Regions from separate parts of the Homo sapiens genome. Here all the other regions are linked to region 5. Evidence: promoter capture Hi-C in human tissues and cell types (Jung and others, 2019). All regions are on one chromosome and are shown on one strand. Each heading gives the region's core, a stretch centred on a gene start or on the middle of the fragment in contact. The rest is flanking DNA. Distances are from core to core; before and after follow the strand shown.

Region 1 (3,896 bases), core at 44-2,543, 750 kb after region 5:
GGCCCCACTCCCCGAGACTGAGAAACCTTCCCCCAGAGCCAAAGGATTGCCAACTGCTGCACCAGGATGGTCTCAATGAGCCCATTGTCTTGGACTAAATTACAGGGTCACAAAACTGGCTTGGGAGACAGCCGCAGAAGCAGCTCCAGATGGAGGCACATGGGGGCAAGGGTGGAGTTACACCCAGAGACCCAAGGAAGGGGCACTAACAACTTTCATAGTGCAAATGGTGACAGCTGTACAACGAACACAACCCCAAACCCTGGCCTCCCCTCCCGCCACAGGGCTCCCGTTGAGACACGAGAGTTCTTCCCCAGAAATCCCACTGGGGGCCCGACACTTTCTGTTAGGAACTGAGAGCAGAGACCTCGATCCCGCAGGCAGGAGGAGAGCTCTGCACAACACAGGGCCTCTCTCCATAAGGGCTTACTGGAAAGTGGTCAGACCGGCTAAGTCGTGCCACTTGGACATTTGGGACAAGGAAGGCCCCTGGAGGAGCGGTCGCAGGGAGGAGTTGCAAAGAGGCAGGGGCAGGGAGGTCACATTCACTCGGGGACTGCAGGAGGCTCAACGGAACACAGTGGACCTAGGGAGACCCCAGTATGAGCATGTGCCCAAAGATGTCCAGATGAGGAGGTGTTGTGGGGGAGGGGGGCGGGAACAGCAAGCCCTCCCAGCTCTGCAGACCCAGACCTCCCCTCCCTCTGGGAAGCAGGGATGCAAAGGGATAGAGCCTGAAAAAGGGCTTTCACCACTAAGCTGACAAAGTAACTACGATGTTTCCAGCTCACACTCTGCACAGCGCCAGTGGCCACTGGATCACAACCCCCTCCCGTCCCTTCGCCGCCCCACACCCTCCTCAGGCCCAGCCCTGAAGAACAGCCACTGGCACTCTGCTTGGCGTCCAGCCAAAGTTCTGGTCCCCCAGGAGGCCCCGCCTCCCCCACTCAGATAGGGCTGACCCCAGGTGGGCCGTGTGGGCAGCTGGGCTCAGGACACCCAGATGTCAGCCCTGGTTCTGGCCATGGAGCGGGGAGGACCTCAGGCTGGTCACCTCCCAGCTTGGCCTGACACCTGGACAGTTTGCTCATTTCAACACAGCCTTTCCCCCTCCCGGCCCACCAGAGGGCTCTGCCCAAGTCAGCCTAGGAGCCTCTCCGAGGGGCGGGGGCTCCAGGTCCCGGCAGAGGCAGGCCCGCCCCTCAGAAGCCCTGCCCCAGAGCGCTGGAGACCATTGTGTGAGCTTCCCCTTCGCCTGCTGTATTTACTCCCGCGGACGCAGGACGCAGAGCCCCAGCACCGGCAGTCAAGAGGACGCAGGAAAGCGCACGCACTCACAGGCTCAGAGACGCGGACGCCAGACCCAGGCTTGGACAGAGCAGCCCCGCAAGTCCCAACACACTTTGTAAACCCCGAAGACAGGAGAGAGCCAAAATACTCTCCCTGCCCGCACGCAGGCCCCTTCTGTCCCCCACGGCCCGATTCTGGGAGGCGGATGAGGATATCCCCAGGCCTGGATGGGGGCCATGGGACATCCCACTCTAGACCCTGCCACGACCTGGGCTGTGTCCGTTCGGTGCTCCCGGCCCACGGGCTGCACAACTTGGCGGCCCCGAAACTGGCGTGGGGGAGGGGAGGGCTGTCCACCCGAGCAGGACGCGGCTGTCCACTCAGTCGGAGGTGAGGAACGACCTCCCTATCCCGTTGCCGGGTCCAAGCGGGGCCCGAGAGCCGCCGGGGAGAGCCAAAGGGAGGGGACCGATGGATTTCCCAGAGTGAAACTGTGCGTCCTGGAGAGTTCCGAGGCAGCCTCGCGAGCCCTCGAGGAGGTCGCTGTCGCTTGGCAAACACAAACAACAATAAAAGGAAGGAAACCCAGGCGGCAGTGCGCAGAACGAGCACAGGGTCCTGTGAGGGCGCGCAGGGTCTACGCGGGTGCCCCTAACAGGGTCCCCCACGTAGGCGGCGCGGGCACGGGGCCGGGGGCGCGCGGCGCTCTCAGCGGGAGGGCGCCTGGATTAGGGGTCCCGTCTCCCCTCAGCGCACTCCCGTCTCCCCTCAGCGCACCCCCGTCCCGCGCCAGGCCCACCCGCAGGGTCCTCTCCAGCACGTCCGCGGCCGCAGCAGCCAGCCCAGCACCCACCTTCGAAGTCCGAAATGATCCCATCCAGCTGCGCGTTGACCGCGGGGTCCGACATGATGGCTGGTGGGCAGCGGGTCGCGCGGAGGGCAGCGGCGAGGAAGCGCCCCCGGCGGGGCCCGGGCCCTGCGCGCTGGCTGGGGCGCCGCGCCCGCGCTCCTGCAGTGCAGAGCTAGCCGCCGGAGGAGCCCCTAGGCCCCCTGGCTCAGCTGAATGAATGGGGGAGGAAGGCGGGCGCCGGCCCCTCCCCGCGCGCTGCGCCCCCGCCCCGCCCCCGCCTCCCGGGCGGATCAGGTTCCCGCACCCGCACCGGCCTCCCTGTCTCGCACTGGCTGCTCCGCCCGCCTGTCAAGGCCAGGCCTGGGGGGCTGGGGCCCGAGTGGCCGCTGGGGGACAGTCCTGGGCACACGACCGGAGCGCCCCCCTCCTCCCCGCCTGGCCCGCGCCCAGGGGACGGCGAGAGACGCGGCCTCAGCCCCTCCCCCCGGGCGCCCCGCTGCGGCCAGATGTGGGCGGATGTGGAGGCCGGGCCATGGCGAGGAGGGCGGGCGCCCAGAGGGGAAGAGATTCCTCCCCTTCCCCGGGCGCAGGGTCCTTCTGCAGGAGGCTGTATTTGGGCAGCCAAACAAAGTTCTCTGTCACCGCCGCCGCGCGCTCTGCGCCTGCAAGGGTTAAACGGCAGCGCACGCGGCTGGCAGGCAGGATCCCGGCCTGTGGGCTCAAGAGCCGAGGGGCGCAGGGCGAACATGCGAGTCCCATGGCACCAGCGAGAGGCCACCAACTCCCACCCACCGAGGGCACCCCTGCAGCTAACACCCCCACCACGACCACCGCCCCGGGGGCCACCGCTGCACCCTCCTGGGTGAGCCCTGGAGAAGGCACTGTCCGGGAGAAGGGGCACAGGGCGGGGATGGAACACGGCTGTCAGAGAAGCCAGGGACGGGCGACGCCTCCCTTCCTCCACAATAAGGGCCTCCTGAGAGCAGGAAGTAGACCTTGTCAGGAGCAGACGTTTCCGAAGGAAGGTGTGAAGGAAGGAGCTAGGCAGTGAGTGAGCAGAAAGGGAGCTGCCCCAAGGGCTTCTCCCTCCCTTCTGGGCCCTAACCTGAGGCCTAGCCTTCCCTCCAGGCCAGCGGTCTCTACCCTTAAACTATATCATCCACAAGGCAGGCAGGGCCGAGGGGCTGGGGTAGACCTGGGGACCTGGGTTAGACACAGAACTTGAGAAGCAACAGGCTCTCATCCTCAAGAAGGGCCCCCCAGGTCTGTCACCTACAAGAGAGAGAGGCGCTTCTTCCACTCGCCCTGGAAAGCCAGAAACCCACTCCTGCATGCTCTCCCTGTCACCCCGTCCCTTAGACCCTCGGCCTCTGCCCAGAGTCAGGGGCCATGTGAGAATTCACAGCATGGAACAACACCCCCACCCCCGAAGCAGCAGGCCGCAACGCTACAACTGCACTCCGGTCCCTTGAATGTGTGGCCGGGGAGCGCCTGACAGCTCATCCTGGGTCTGAGGTCGCTCGCTGCCCACTTGCCCCTCCCCACCCCCTCTGAAATATCCCAAATGTGCAGGAGTGCTGAGACTCTCCAGCCATTCTGGAGAGGCGGGGGGCAGGGGGTCTCTTGCGGAAAATGTTCTAGGTTTGGGTGGCTTTTTAAGTAGATGAAATCAAGTCCTTCCTTTTTAAGAAAAGCAGGCACTCCCTCCCTCATGCTTTGGATATTTTGAACTATTTTCAACCAAGTGAGTTTGTGG
Region 2 (3,741 bases), core at 661-3,160, 970 kb after region 5:
AGTTTATTTCAGAAACAACAAAACAAAAAAAATACTACAGTTGGGTGGATCACACGAAGCCAGGCGTCCTAGACCAGCCTGGCCAACATGGTGAAACCCTGTTTTTATTAAAATTACAAAAATTAGCCGGGCGTGGTGGTGCACATTTGTAATCCCAGCTACTTGGGAGGCACGAGAATTGCTTGAGCCCCAGAGGTGGAGGTTGCAGTGAGTCGAGATCGTGCCACTGCACTCCAGCCTAGGCAACAGAGTGAGACTGTCTCAAAAAAAAAAAAAAAAAAAAAAAAAAAAAAAAAGGAAAGAAAGCTATAAAATGTAATTGAAACTTTAAAAATGTATAGTACAGACAACAGCCAAAAGGTAGAAACAACCCAACGTCCATCGGTAAGTCAATGGATGAGCAGAATGTGGCAGATACAATTGAGTACAATTCAATTCAGAATGTGGCATATACAATTGAGTACAATTCACCCCTGAAGAGGAAGGGAATTCTGCACATGCTACAACATGGATGAACCTTGAAGACATTAGGCTAAGTGAAAAAACCCAGTTACACAAAAGGTCAAGTACTACCCAAAAACTAAAGCTACAACATGGGTGAACCTTGAAGACATTAGGCTAAGTGAAAAAACCCAGTTACACAAAAGGTCAAGTAACTACCAAGTTACGCAAAAGGTCAAGTGTCATTCTACCCATAAGAGGTACCGAGAGTAGTCAAATTTATAGGGACAGAAAGAATGGTGGCTGCCAGGGGCTGGGGAAAGGAAGAATGGGGAATGAGTGTTTCATGGGGACAGAGCTTCGATTTGGGGAGATGAGAAAGTTCTGGAGATGGATGGTGGTGGTGGCTGCACAACGATGTGAATTTAGTTAGTGCCACTGAACTCTGCACTTAAAAGTGGTTACAGGCCGGGCACGATGGCTCACGCCTGTAATCCCAGCACTTTGGAAGGCCAAGGTGGGTGGATCATGAGGTCAGGAGTTCGAGACCAGTCTGGCCAATATGGTGAAACCCCATCTCTACTAAAAATACAAAAATAGAAGTTATGGCCAGGCACGGTGGCTCATGCCCAGCCCACATGCTTGTTAATATAACGTGGACATCACTAAATAAACTCAAGAACAGCAATTTGGAGAAGTACATAAAGCAAACAGTCTCCTTCTAGTGTATGTTAAATCCGTCACATGAAAACATGATGTAATAAGAGCCTATTTATACAGCCTGTTGAAAAAAACCATTCGTTTGAAAAACTTTTAAATAAAAGTTATGGCCAGGCATGGTGGCTCATGCCTGTAATCCCAATACTTTGGGAGGCCAAGGCAGACGCATCACGAGGTCAGGAGTTTGGGACCAGCCTGACCAACATGGTGAAACCCCGTCTCTACTAAAAATACAAAAATTAGCCGGGGATGGTGGCGCATGCCTGTAATCCCAGCTACTCAGGAGGCTGAGGCAGAAGAATCGCTTGAACCTGGGAGGTGGAGGCTGCAGTGAGCCGAGATCATGCCACTGCACTCCAGCCTGGGCAACGCAGCGAGGCCCCATCTCAAAAAAAAAAAAAAAGTTATAATAGAAACCACCCTCCTTTCTTCCTATCCCATGTACTACAAATTCAAATGATGCAAATCCACACCAGGGGTTCTCCAGCTTGAGCAGGCGTTAAGAATCACCTGGAAGCCTTGTGAAGCCACAGACTGCGGGACTCACCTCCAGAAATTCTGACTCAGTGAAGAATTAGGATTTGGAACTCTTCGAATTTACATTATAAACCAACTTTGTGTGAGAAAATTCAAATGAAGATAATACGTGTTTGGAGAAGAGCTTTCTAAATATTAATGCCATAAATCCTGCAACATACCAATGACCACTTAAATCAATTTACTTCTTAAAATATGTACCCTGTAGCTTTTAGTTCTGGGCCTTGATTTTTAATACATACACAAGCATTAAACTAGGAAAAAGAAAAGAAACACACACATTTTGTGATTAGGCCTACCTCATGCTATGGAATAACTTATTTATTAAGAAAACAAGAATTATGTAATAACTCTTGGGTTTTAAATTTGGAGAAATCTTAAAGTCAGATTACCATTCCACCAGAGTCAAGAATTTTACTTAAAATAAATTTATGTTCTGTAGGAGAACCAAAGAAATAGGATTTTGTATATACTTTGTATTCATCACTACAGGAGAAAAGCCACTCAAAACACTAAGTGACACATAAACCAGGACACGCTTTTCAGGCAACTAGAGGGATTATAAGCTTCAGTTCACTGAACTATTTTACTCACAAAACATGATTTGCATCAGATTCTTTTGAACCATAAATAGTAAATACAGCCGACCAAACGACTATGTTCCAATGTAACCTTTTGTCAAAATTTTCATTATGTCATGGGATTAGAGTAAAAAAAAAACAAAAAACAAAATTTCACTGACAGAGAAGAAGTGATGCAAGAAACGAAAGCATACACTGCAAGACCCTCTACTCTTCATAGACATCTTTTTTTTTTTTTTTTAAGACGGAGTCTCGCTCTGCTGCCCAGTCTGGAGTGCAGTGGTGTGATCCCAGCTCACTGCAACCTCAGCCTCCTGGGTTCAAGCAATTCTCGTGCCTCAGCCTCCCCAGTAGCTAGGATTACAGATGTACGCCACCACGCCCAGCTAATTTTTGTATTTTTAATAGAGATGGGGTTTCACTATGTTGGCCAGGCTGGTCTCAAACTCCTGACCTCAAGTGATCCGCCTGCCTCAGCTTCCCAAAGTGCTGGGATTACAAGTGTGAGCCACCGTGCCTGGCCGAGAAATCTATTTTTGAGGGCATGAGGATTTGATTCTCACCCTGGGAACACTGGCAGTTGCAGGGAAGGTGACAGAGAGAGGCAGAGAGACCAGTGGAGTGTCAGGACCCTACAGCGGCTGCCAGTGCACAGAGAGGAACCTCCACCAGGAGCAACTGCATGCAGCCAGCTAGAGTCAGCCAGGTGAGAAAGCAGGAAAGGTATTCCAGGCAAGTATGTGGTCAAGGCACCAAGATCATGACAAAAAATGGTATACCTAGGAAACAGCAAGAAATTCGACATAATTAGACTGTGCAGTGGGTGTGGAGGCCTCGCCATGGAGAGGAGGCTGCAGGACAGGCAGAAGGCCAATGACAAAGGATTCTGGGAGCCAAGCTTAAGCTGGGAACCTCATCTTAAAGATGAGGTACGTGGACTGGGCGAAGTGGCTCACGCCTGTAATCCCAGCTGAGGCTGAGGCAGGAGAGAGGCGGAGGCTGCAGTGAGCCGAGATGGCACCACTGCATTCTAGCCTGGGCAACAGAGCGAGATTCTGTCTCAAAAAAATTAAATAAATAAATAAATAAAGATGAGGTGCAGGCACTTCATCATTTGAAACTTGCAGGCAGCACAGTCAAGTTTACAATGTACCGATCTCTCTGGCAGCAGCCCCAAGGACGAGCAGAAGAGTGAGGGGTAGACTCAGGGTCCAGAGGCTGTTGTAAGGAGGAGTGGTCTGGGGCTAAGCCACCAAGGCTACAGAAGAGCAAAGTGAGCGCCCATCCAGGAGACATCTCTGCCAGCTCCCATCTGGGCACCAGCAAGACTGAGGGGTGAGGAAGGAAGGCTGCCAGGGATGCCTGGATTTCTGCTCTGAGGGTAAGGTACCTGCGGGGCCACACATCTAAAGCAGCAGCTCAGGGGAAAGGGAGAGCTTCTGAGTGGTGTTTTATTGGTTTG
Region 3 (3,851 bases), core at 1,107-3,606, 670 kb after region 5:
ACAGCGAGACTCCATTTCAAAAAAAAAAAGAGTCTGGGAGTTCTCTCTCTCGCCATGTGACGTGCCAGCTCCCCCTTCACCTTCTACCATGAGGAAAAGCTTCCTGGGGCCTCCCCAGAAGCCAAGCAGATGCTGGCACCACTTGTACAGCCTGCAGAACCGTGAGTCAAATAACCCCCCAGCCTCGGCTATTCCTTATAGCAACTCAAAATGGACGAACACAATGTATTAGTTTCTCTTTCTGGACCCCACAGTGTGCCTGGCTGGGGCTGTGCTCTGGGGAAATGGCAACTGCGAGGTCCTCACAGACCGGGCCCGGGTCTTAACCACAGCCGCATCTCAGCGCCTTGATATTGCTGAGTGGATGCCCAAAAAGCACTGCTGGGTGAATGTGCGAGTGAATGATGAAGATGGAGGTGGCTGTTGGTGCCAGGGCAAGGCCCCAGGAGTCTGGGGAGGTGGCACCAGGCAGTTCAGGTCAACGGCTAACCCTGGACAGGGCCAGGAGGCAGCCAGAATGGTTAAGGACAGCTAAGGGACTTTAGGCAAGTGGTCTCACTCTTCCCAGGCGGGCAGGAAGCAGGAATCAGACCAAGGGGTGCCAGGTGGTAGTGGCACTCAGGGGGCCTGAGGAGCAGGTGCAGGCTCAGCAGGGCTGGTGGTGCCACGTGTGGGGCCGACCGTGGCCCCGTTCACTGCCTCCACCTCCTGGACGCATGGGCCCATGGCCCCCAAGGCCCTCCTCTGTCCCCACGCCCACCTTTCCAGGCTCCACTTCCAGACGCCAAGCCATTTTCTCACTCCCATCTCTCCCGTTGCCCCTATATCTGAGCTGACCTCCTCCCTGAGCTCTGGTGAAATTCTAGAGAGCCCAGAGGTGCAGCTCACACTCCTGCGCCACAAGGCCTTTGCAGTCTCCACCTTCCTGGGACACTCCATCTTAGAGCTGGGTGTGTACTTATCTCACTGGATCAGAAACTTCAGGAATGCCCATCTTGCATGCTCCTGCTCCCCACTTCCCGCCCGCCACTCAGCCCGTGGCTGCCATGTGGTTGGGCCTTGGCAGCCACCGCAGCTGGTAACACACAATTAGCACTTCTGTGTCCAGGTTCCGTGCTGAGCCTCTTCAGTTTCATCCCCGTTTGTCCTCAAAATGGTCCCTGACATGGTAACCATCATTATCCATTTTTCAGACAAAAGACCATAGCTCTAGGAGAGGAGGAATGGCAGGTCTGAGGCCACGTGGTTCGTAACAGGCAAATGGACCCGGCAGTCACTCTACCCTCGAGTGGGGCTCCTCCCTGTCTGCAGACCTCGCTGAGGTTTTAGAGCCTGGAGCCAGTGAGTCTCCACTGAGCACAAGGACAGCGGCGGTGCCGGGGCTGGAACAAGGCAGGGAGGGGCCTCCCAAATCACAGTCCTGGCTGTGGACCCACCTTGGGACCCCGCCCTGGCTGGGAACCTTGCTCCAGCCCACCCGGGACACCTTCCCACCCTGAGTCCTGCACTGGGCTGTGCACGGGGTCTGCTGAATGAGTGAGGGCAGGAGGGATGGTGAGCAGGGTGGAAAGCGACTATGGTGGGTAGGCTTCTGCTGGAAGCTTGAAACATTCCTGGCGAGCAGGAAAATACCAGGGGAAGAGGTTACAGCCCTCAGAAGGGCTCGCTGGGGACTGTCCTGCAGCCCTCTCATCGGGACAGGCAGAAAATCCAGCCCCCCTTCAGGGTGAGTCCAGGAAGCCTGTGGGGGCACAGGCTCTAGCTAGGGTGGCGCGTGGGTTTACCCAGGGGACGCTGCCGTGGCCCAGAGTTAGGTTAAACCTCATGTATTCTGTAAATAATTATTTATAATAAACAAGGCTTATTCACCCTCTAAGAAGAGTAAAACATTACAGGAGGCACTTTCTCACCAACTAAACACGTCATAGTGACTTCACTGCGTCACTGAGGGAGGGCACCAGGGTGCCCGGTCCAGAGTAAACTGTGGCCAGGGGGACGGGCACACTGCCAAATCGGCCAGACCTCCACCCCTGAAAATGTGGGCTAAATTCTCTTCAACAAGTTACAAGGAAATTCAGTGTGAACCCCATGTTTCCACCACTATCGGCTGTTCTGGAAGACTGGGAGGAGGGGTCTTGCCTTTTCTCCACTCTTGGTCACAGGGTTTGAGGCCACAACTTGGACTGGGACCCCAATCTCCTTCCTGGGGAAGAGGCTCATTCAGGGTGTCTGCCAAGGCCCAGCGCATAAACACGGAACTCGCTTAACGTCTGCTCCGGCACCTCTGGGCCTCCCACACTGGGTTCCCCTATCTGACCCCTCAAGCAGTGAGAGTGATGGGACATGGGGCGCCTCTAGGGGAGACTTGGGGAGATGGAGCAAGCTTCCCAGCCCAAGGTGAGGTCCCGAGGCATGGTCCATGCAGTGATGCTTCTCACGGGAGGCCTGAGGCATGACCAGGAGCTTGGAGACTCAGCAGAGGTCTGGGCATGGGACTCTCGGTACGCAGCCAGAGCGAGGGCCGAGGCTGTATGGATGCAAGCAGGTGACCCTGTGCCATCGGGTGCCATCTGTGCCGGGCCCTGTGCAGCCGTCCCCATCTCACTGAGCTTCAGGGAGGTGAGGCAACCATCCCAGGCACACAGCCCCGGGGGCAAAGGCTGGACCCAGGTGTGTCTGATTCCAGAATTCAAGAAGACAAGTAGAGGAGTCTGAGTCCCCTGAGACCGCAGTGATGGCTTAGTGCCTCAGGATGGCCAGGCTGGCTCCTGCAGCTTTAGTCAACCGTGCCCTCCTTCAGTCATCCAGGGTCCCAGCGCTGGTCCCTGAGACCTGGTACTGGCCATAGGGGCCCATCTCTGGCTGTGGACATCTAGTGCTGGTCACTGGGATCTGGTATTGGCCGTGGGGACTTGTCCTTGGCTGTGGGGACCCAGCGCTGGTCCCTGAGACCTGGTACTGGCCATGGGGACCCGTCCCTGGCTGTGGGTACCCGGTGCTGGTCCCTGAGATCTGGTACTGGCCATGGGGGCCCGTCCCTGGCTGTGGGTACCCGGTGCTGGTCCCTGAGACCTGGTACTGGCCATGGAGGCCTGTCCCTGGCTGTGGGTACCCGGTGCTGGTCCCTGAGATCTGGTACTGGCCGTGGGGGCCCATCCCTGGCTGCAGGGACTCAGTATTGTCTATGGGGTCTGTCCCTGGCTTCGGGGAGCCAGTAGTGCCTGTGGGGCCCATACCTGGTGGTGGGGACCTGGTGCTGGAGGATCCTGACAGCAAAACCACAGAGGCGACAGGTAACAGCAATCCATTAGCACAGCGTGTGGCCTGCCCTAGCCACGGCACCTTCCTCCACTCTGTGCCCTCTCACCACAAAGCCTAGTGCAGGTAACGAAGCCAAGAGGTGGAGAACCCGCAGGAGGACGCACACCACACCTGCTCCTCGTGTGGCGTCCCTGCACCCTGGGTGGCTGAGACCCCCTGCTCCTCCTCCAGGCCTCTCCGTGCCAGGTCTGCGCTGTTCTCCCTGGCCTCGGCTCCCACCCACCCGGCCCCCCAGCTACAGACAGCAGCGATTCTCCCTCCCACTCAATGGGGCCACTGTCCAGCCCATCATTAGTCTTCAGGGCTGGCAGATGACACCGGCCACGGGCAGTGTTTCCTCCGGCCCCAGCACACAAGGCACAAAAGACACCATCCTGCCCCAAGACCCTCCTAGTCACGTGGCGCATGGGAAGCGGTGCCGGGAATCTTCCAGGGCAGTCCCCTGCCCCGGGGGAGATCGTGTTCAAATCCCCGAGGAAATGCTGCTCTTTGGCCCTTTTTCTGAAAAACCCCCCAAGGAGACCTTGTGC
Region 4 (3,624 bases), core at 995-3,494, 890 kb before region 5:
CACATCTACACAAGGTGTCTGGGTCAAAACCCCTAAAGGCTTCCTGAATATTCCCAAATCATCCCATATTCTTAGTCAAGGGTAGATCCTAGAATGGGAAGAAATATTTCCTGGAACCCCTGGCAGGGAAGGCAGCACGTTCTGTGCCCTCCCTGATTTGGTAATTCTTTCTCTCTCCCTGGGCCTGTCACCACCACTCGCTGGGTCTGTTTACTTATTGCTGGAAAAAGCAATGTGATCTCAGTTAAAGTCTGCAAGACACTCGGTTCCAGATAAGCACAGCATGTCATTAGCAGCACTGTGAGTTTTCCCACCGCGGCCCTAACATCCCGCCTTTCCCAGCTATTTTGGGTCGGGCTGCCCAGTCATCCCACAAGGGCAGAGATTGGTATTGCAAACTTTGAATTCTGTTCCCAAGGGTAGCGACCGGCCGGCTCCGATGGTGACGTCCCACTGCCAAGGGGTGGGAGTGGGGAGAGTCTCCACAGAGCTTCGGAGAAGCTGCTAAGATGGAAAAGTGGAAACTTGGCAGACAGATCCAGCCTCCCTGGCCACTGGCCCATGCTCGTGGCTCCTGGATGGCGCTGCCACGTTCTGAGCAGCTTGGGACAGGTGGAGATCAGGACTGGCAGCTGCAAGGACACACCAGGTGAATAGGTTTCTTTATGGTCCTCACACCTGCAGAAAACCAGGAGGGTAAGGGCGTTCCCTCTTCCAGGAAGCCATGCCTTTCCACAGAAGTCTCCCCTGAGGCCATGTACACGTGTGCCTTGCAACTCTATCAAGCCATTTAATTTCCCTATGCCTCAGTTTCCTCACCTCTGAATATTTACTCTCCTGTTTTGGCAATGAATGTTTTCAGTTACATGGAGACAGGCATATACTGATCGACTAGGCAATATTTTACTTGATAAATAAGATGGGAGGGCCCCCTGGTGGACTCCCCAGTTCCAAGCACTTAACTATGAAATGAGTGAGTAAATGCATGTCAACATATGAATGAATGATTCAATAAAGAATGTCTTGTCCTTTATGCAGAGCCACAGAAACTAAAGAGAATTTCCAAAAGGAGTCTATGGTGAAGTCTCTGAGGATGCAAAGAAGACAAGGAGAATGAAAATCCAATGAAAGCCTGATTGTATTTGTTGACCTTAAGGAAAGTGATTTTATGGTACAGCCTCTCTGGAAGGGAGGGTGTGTTCGCTCACAGAATGCAAATACCCTTTGACCCCCTAATCTTTCTTCTAGGAGTTTCTCCTACAGATAAACTTAGAAGGGTGCTCAAATAAGTAAGTTCAAGGATATCCTCTGAAGCATTGCCGTAGTATAAAAAAAGCACAGATACCCTCAAAGGACATCATTAGGGGCCTGGTAAAATAAATTCCACACAGTGGAACACCGTGTAGCTCTTTAGAGAATAAACAGCTCTCTATATGTGATCTGGAACAATCTCCAAGCTATATTGTGAAGTGAAAATTACAAACCCTTACTGAAAAGCACTAAAGAAAATCCAAAGAAATGGAAAAGCAAAGCGTGGTCTTAGATAGAAGACTCAATATCATTAAAAAAAAAAAAAAACTCAGTTCTCGCTCAATTAAGCTATAGATTCCAAGCAATTCCATTCAAAATCCCAGAAGGTTGAAGGTGGGTGAGGTAGGAGGGGACTTGTCCTACATCATAGGAAGGCTTATTATAAAGACATAATAATGAAGATACTGGTATTGGAACAGATGTGATCAAGTATATTAGTTCAACATGATAGAAGGCCCACCCGACAAAGACCCATGTGTGTATGAAAACTTGATCTATGACAAAATTGGCATTGCACGTATATCAATGGGGATGGGATGGATCAATTCCTAAAAACACACAAGATGATGGGGAATCCACAGAAAAAGAAACGTAAACAGCCAAAAAGTGTAAGAAAAGATATACAACCTCACAGTAATCAGGCAAGGAGAAGACACTGATTACCATCAGATTGGCAAAATTAAGCCATCTGATGATGTCTGTGGAGCTGTTACTGGAAAGGGTCCCAAACCAGACCCCAAGAGAGGGTTCTTTGATCTTGAGCAAGAAAGAATTTGGGATAAGTCCACAGGGTAAAATACAAGCAAGTTTATCAAGAGAGTAAAGGAGGCCGGACGCAGTGGCTCATGCCTGTAATGCCAACACTTCAGAAGGCCGAGACAGGCAGACCACCTGAGATCAGTTCAAGACCACCCTGGCCAACATGGTGAACCCCCATCTCTACTAAAAATATAATTACCCCTATTTACCCCTATTCCTGCCTAACCTCCCAGGAATACAGCCCAGCAGGTCTCAGCCTTATTTTACCCAGCCCCTGTTCAAGTAGCATGCCTGTAATCCCAGCTACTCAGAAGGCTGTGGCATGAGAATCACTTGAACGTGGGAGATGGAGGTTGCAGAGAGCCAAGATTGCGCCATTGCACTCCAACCTGGGCAATAGAGCAACACTGTGCCAAAAAAAAAAAAAAAAAAAAGAAAGAAAAGAAAAGAAAAATGGCTATTCCATAGGCAGAGCACCCCCAAAGGCTGCTGGTTGGCTATTTTTATGGTTATGTCTTGATCATATGCTAAACAAGGGGTGGATTATTCATGAGCTTTCTGGGAAAGGGGCAAGAATTTCTTGTAATTGAGGGTTTCTCCCCGTCATAGGCCATACAGGGTAACTTCCAGACGTTCCCATGGCCTTTGTAAACTGCCACGGTGCTGGTGGGAGTGTTTTTTTAGCATGCTAATGTATTATAATTAGCATATAATGAGCAGTTGGGACAACTAGAGGTCACTTTTGTTGCCATCTTGGTTTTGGCAGGTTTTGGCCAGCCTTTATACTGCATCCTGTTATATGAGCAGGGTCATTGTGGCCTGTATCTTGTGACCTCCTATCTCATCTCAGATCCCGGGAGGTTAAAATGCCTTAACCTCCCAGGAATGTGGCCCAGCAGGTCTCAGCATCATTTTACCCAGCCCCTATTCAAGTTAAAGTTGCTCTGCTTCCAATGCCTCTGACATATTTCCCCCCTCCTTTTTACAAGAGGACCACTAATCCTAAGGGTTGTAGAGGTAGGAAGATTCCCCTTCTGTAGCTTCTTCAGGCTAAATAGGAGTAATGATATTCTCATCTAACTATTAAGGTCTTTTGTATTCAGGGTAGAGAGGAACTCAGTCAGAAAGCATCAGCATACTGACGGCCATTCATAACTCTGAGTTCCAACAAAAGGTGATATCTGGAAGACTGGCAAATGTTCAATTTAAGAAAACGGCGAGTAAGCTTATTCTGCATTCCTACACAACGAGTACAACAGGAATATATTCCACAATAGTAAAGCAAAATAAGTAAAATTATCTGATATGGTTTGCATCTGTGTCCCCACCAAATCTCATGTCCGATTATAGTCCCCAAAGTTGGAGGTAGGGCCTGATGGGAGGTGACTGGATCACTGGGGCAGTTTCTCATGAATGGTTTGGCCCCATCCCCCTTGGTCATGATAGTGGGTGAGTTCTCGTGAGATCTGGTTGTTTAAAAGTGTATGGTACCTCCTCGCTCTCTCTCTTTCTCCTGCTCCTGTCATGTAAGAGGCCTCTCCCCCTTTGCCTTAG
Region 5 (4,057 bases), core at 777-3,276:
GTGAGGGAGCCCAGAGGAGGGGTCATATGACAGGAAACCCAGCTTCCCTCTCCACTACCTCCCTCCTCCCCTCTCACCCCATGGTTTCCTCTGCTTTAAACTGAGGCCAAGCAGGCACTTCCTGTGGGCCCCTGAGATGCAGAGGTGAAGGTGACAGGCGTAGGCCACTTGGCCTCCCAGGGAGCTCTGTGCATGCTGGGCTGCGGGTGGCCCACCCTTCCCCTCTGCACAGGAGTCAGGGCCTGGTCTCCTGCAGCCCTAGGGTCCACTGGTCCGGGTCTGCCGCCTGGCTGCCTCCAGGGATGTCCAGCCTGCAGCTGAGGCCCTCTCTGTTCAACTCCTTCCAGCCTGGATAGGCAGGACTTGACCTCGAGGCCTGAGCTGGGAGCCTGACATGGGTGGGGATGGGAACGGTGGGGGCACAGGGGCCAAACTCTTTATCTGCCGGCCTCACCCTGGAGGGTGTGATAATGACAGGATGGTGGGCTCCCCAGAACCTGGCTGCTGGGTTTCCAGATACTCTTGGTGTTACTGCTGTACTTCCAGCCCCTGTCATTGGCGTTATGGTTGTGCCAAGACCCAGGCCTAGCACCTGGCCGGTAGTAAGTGCTCAGGAATTGGCTCCATTCATGCTCTCCCAGGCTAGATGTTTAAGACATATCTTTGCCAATTCTCTGTCCTTGGGCCCCTGGGAAGCCCGCAGCCCTTCCTCTCTGCTCCCTCTCTACCTGCTATAGGGCCCAGTCATCTCAGGTCTGAATGTTCATAGCTTTTCTGCCTCTCTGCCCACCTCCTTCCTGGTTTCCAGAGTCCTTTCTGTGTGTCAGGCGCAAGCTATGTGCTGGTGCTGGGCACACAGTGGGCTGGGGTAGGAGGGGGCACAGAACCACAGATGTACATGTCAATAGGAAGTGGTAGGTGCTCCACCAGGGTTCAATCTGGGGAGGCTCCCCAGAGGAGGTGGCATTCATGCAAATTCAGTGTGGGTATGCAGGGAGGGGGAAGCAGTGGGAGGAGAGGCAGGGGCTGGGTCTCCATGCCAGGGTGCCACTTGCCAAGAACCAGCTTGGGGTAGCCATCTGAGGACCACACTGGCAGCTCCAAAAGGCCCCAGCCTTGACCCCTGCCTGGTCCTCGCTTTTGCTTGCCTGCTCTCCCCTGCAGCAGTGCCCTCTCCTGCCCTCCTGGGCCCCAGCTCACATTCACCCTGCCTGCTTCATGGCTTCTCCCCGCCAGGAATGACCCTCCCTTCCAAATGGGCTTGGGGTGGGGGGTACAATCTCAAAGGCAGTTTCCTCCATAGAGTTCCCAGGTGGACCACTAAGTCTCCTGCTTTGGCTGGGGGCACCCTAAAGGGTGATTAACTTCTCTCAGCCTCAGTTTCCTCATCTGTGAAATGGGAATATCAGTGCATACCTTCCTGGCTCATGGGGAATAACAGAAAACAGGGCAACGGGTACAGCACCTGGGGACAGTCACCTAAGTGTCAGCGTGTCCTCCTTTTCATCCCCTCCTCTCCACACAGCACACAGGAAGTGAGCCAGAACTCTTGCTAGATAAACAATGAACCCCGCCCAGGTGTCAGGAGTGGGAGATAACCAGGCTCCCCCCGCCGGGGTCGGGGAGAGTCAGCAGGAGGCTTGCGGGGGCGGCGGGGGGGGGGGCGCTGCCCAATCTGGAGTGAGATACTCTGTGTCCCTGGGGCTTTCGGCGGCATCTTACTTGGACGATCCCTAACCATGGGAAGCAGATGAGTCTGGAAATATTGCCCCTTTTTGGAACTTGGGGAAACTGAGCGTCAGAAAAATTGGGGACTTCAACCAGGGGCTGGAATGAATCCAGCCCAGCTCAGACCTCAGGAGGAGGGGTCGGAAGTTGGCAGGGGAGGAAGGCATAGTCGCCGCGGGGCGCCCGGAGGAGGGCGGGGGCGCCGCGGGCCGGGCCGGGTCACGTGATAGCCGAGGCCCGCCCCCCCCCCCCCCGCCCACGTGGGCCGGGAGGTGCGGCTACTCCCCCGGCCCCGGCAGACCTGCGACTGGCCCAGTCGCCCCTGGGGCCCTTTGCCACTCCCTTGGCAAGGAGAGCCGAGACCTCAGTTCCCGGCGGCTCTTGCGGGGCACAGGTGAGCCCTGGCTGCGCGCGCGGCCCCTCCTCCCCGGCGCCTCCCAGGTGAGCGGCCGCGATCCCGGTCCCGGGTCCCGCCAGCCCCAGCTGCTTCTCCTATGCGGGGACAGCGGCAATCCCCCCTGAATTCCTTTCGGCCTCTGGGGCCATTTGGCAGCCGAGTTCCCTCCCCGGGTGCTCCTGGAGCTCCCAGGGCTTGACCCTCCGGCTCGGACAGAGCTGGGAGCGGCAGGGGCGGGGAGGACAGTGCGGGGAGCAAAATCCGCAGCCCCCACCCAGGTCCCCCAGCCGAGCGCCAGGGCACGGGGAGGGGAGGGGAGGGGGTGTGGCCGGGATGGGAAGGGGCGGGGGACAGGGAGGCCGGCTGGACGGGTTCGGTGGCCCCAGAGTTGCAGCCGCTCTGGGCTCTGGGGCCAGGTTGCGGTTCTCCCTGGGTAGCGGCTGCTCCCGGGAAGCTCGCTGCCGGCTGGGGTGGGGGTTCCTGGAAACGGGCGCCACCCAGCCTCTCCCCACCTAGCTCAGGAATGGTGCGCCTGGAAACTCCGCTGGACTTGCCTGGGCCTCGGGGCGGAGTGCTGGGGCGCTGGGTGCCCGAGTCCCCGGGTTCCCTGAGCTTAGAAGGGCCTGTCTGGAGGAAGGGATTCCAGCTCTAGGGACTGGGTGGGGCGTCCTCAGCCCCTCTTTCGGCAGCTGTCCCGTGTTAGGCTGGGTGGGGCCGCCTCGGACCCAGCTCTGGGCTGGTTTTCCCACGTCTTTGCTCCTGCTGGAGGGAGGGGGTGGTGTGGGGCCTGGGCCCGAAGATGGCACCCAGGACACTGAGGGAGGGCGCCGTCCGGTCCTGTGACTGGCACCCCTGCAAGGAGCTGCTCTGTCGGGGCGCCCCCGGGCTTTGCCTGTCCGAGGAAAGCGCCCTTCAACCCGGCCGACTTTGAGCCCTGAGTTCCTGAGGGTGAGCGCAGGAGGAGTCCAGGGCAGAGGCCGGCAGGACTCGCTGGTGGCTGGGAGCTGAGTCCTGGCTCCACTCTCACAGATGAACGGGCCCCGAGCCCAGGGCCCCAGACAAGGCTGCTCTGGTTCCAGTTGTGCCGGGTGACGGCAGAGCCAGGACAAAGGAGGCCTGTTGAGGTCCTGGCCACCCCCAGCCGGCCGCCCTGGGATGATGGAATGCAGGGCAGTGGGTCTTCTGAGAACATGAGGACCTTGGCGCCCTGACGGCGGTGGCATGGAGTGACCTCTGTGTGTGGGGGAGGAGCCCCCTGTGCTGCTTCCGCCTGGGGCTGGTTGGGGGTGAGGGCTCCAGCAGCTAATTTCCTGCTAGAGGAAGTTCTTTGAGGTCACAGGGCAGACGCAGAGAAGGCCTACAGCCTACTCTGACCTTTCTCTCCAAAAAGGAGGTGTCTCTGTGCCAGAACCCTGGGCATGGAGATCCTGAAAGGGGCTGTGTCTACAGGCACCCTACCTCTTCCCCATTTCCCAGGGACTGGCGACATCGAGGAAACAGATGTGGAACTGCAGACCCCACACCCTTCCTTCCTCTCTCCCCTCCCCTGACACTGGAGGGGGCCCCCCATTCCATTCTGGCATGAGGCTTATTCGGTGCCTCACCATTTATGTACCTGGGGTGATAGGGGGGTGGGCGGGACTGTCTGGGCTGTGAGTGGCACCTCCTGTGGTTCCCCCAGGAATGGGTGGTGTGGACAGCTGCCAGGCGTTGAAGACCACCCCTGGCTCTGTGCCCCTGTCTCATCAGATGGGGGCTCCGGAGGTGGCGCCCAGGCTCTGAGCTACCCTAGGTCTGCAGACTAGCGGGCATTGGCCAGAGACATGGCCCAGCCACTGGCCTTCATCCTCGATGTCCCTGAGACCCCAGGGGACCAGGGGTAAGCGCTCTGGGGCTGGGGGCTGGAGGCTGGAATGTTCCACCCCCCACGGA

Evidence for each region. The method cuts DNA at HindIII sites, captures the fragments that hold promoters and counts their contacts. A contact is called where the count stands out against the background at its distance.
Region 1: a contact is called between a fragment that was not itself captured here and the fragment with the promoter of TMC6 in region 5, in 1 of the 25 tissues and cell types used here (spleen).
Region 2: a contact is called between a fragment that was not itself captured here and the fragment with the promoter of TMC6 in region 5, in 1 of the 25 tissues and cell types used here (spleen).
Region 3: a contact is called between a fragment that was not itself captured here and the fragment with the promoter of TMC6 in region 5, in 1 of the 25 tissues and cell types used here (dorsolateral prefrontal cortex).
Region 4: a contact is called between a fragment that was not itself captured here and the fragment with the promoter of TMC6 in region 5, in 1 of the 25 tissues and cell types used here (spleen).

Annotation. Positions count from the first base shown.
Region 1 is chr17:77,371,800-77,375,695 of GRCh38, reverse strand. All of the region lies in intron 2 of SEPTIN9 (septin 9), which reads right to left. Among named protein-coding and RNA genes, the nearest start is that of MIR4316, 23 kb to the left of the region's middle. RefSeq lists an enhancer at 1-59 and a silencer at 2,248-2,747. The HindIII fragment of the contact is 8,820 bases long and covers 1-3,896 here.
Region 2 is chr17:77,155,354-77,159,094 of GRCh38, reverse strand. All of the region lies in intron 3 of SEC14L1 (SEC14 like lipid binding 1), which reads right to left. Among named protein-coding and RNA genes, the nearest start is that of SEC14L1, 16 kb to the right of the region's middle. The HindIII fragment of the contact is 5,418 bases long and covers 1-3,741 here.
Region 3 is chr17:77,455,892-77,459,742 of GRCh38, reverse strand. The region is part of intron 3 of SEPTIN9 (septin 9); the gene reads right to left. LOC105371903 (a long non-coding RNA gene) reads left to right here. Exons shown (of 3, transcript XR_934990.3): 3 at 1-3,205. Among named protein-coding and RNA genes, the nearest start is that of MIR4316, 61 kb to the right of the region's middle. RefSeq lists enhancers at 2,176-2,255, 1,680-2,294, 2,295-2,908, 3,558-3,851. The HindIII fragment of the contact is 3,011 bases long and covers 851-3,851 here.
Region 4 is chr17:79,017,031-79,020,654 of GRCh38, reverse strand. C1QTNF1-AS1 (C1QTNF1 antisense RNA 1) reads left to right here. Exons shown (of 3, transcript NR_040019.1): 2 at 419-649; 3 at 1,039-1,446. Among named protein-coding and RNA genes, the nearest start is that of C1QTNF1, 5.3 kb to the left of the region's middle. The HindIII fragment of the contact is 6,860 bases long and covers 1-3,624 here.
Region 5 is chr17:78,126,724-78,130,780 of GRCh38, reverse strand. TMC6 (transmembrane channel like 6) reads left to right here and starts at 2,026. Exons shown (of 20, transcript NM_001127198.5): 1 at 2,026-2,169; 2 at 3,875-4,004. The coding sequence starts at 3,949. It overlaps TMC8 (transmembrane channel like 8), which reads right to left and starts at 10. Exons shown (of 16, transcript NM_152468.5): 1 at 1-10. RefSeq lists silencers at 1,933-2,462, 3,733-3,812, 3,863-3,912 and an enhancer at 3,143-3,392. The HindIII fragment of the contact is 22,186 bases long and covers 1-4,057 here.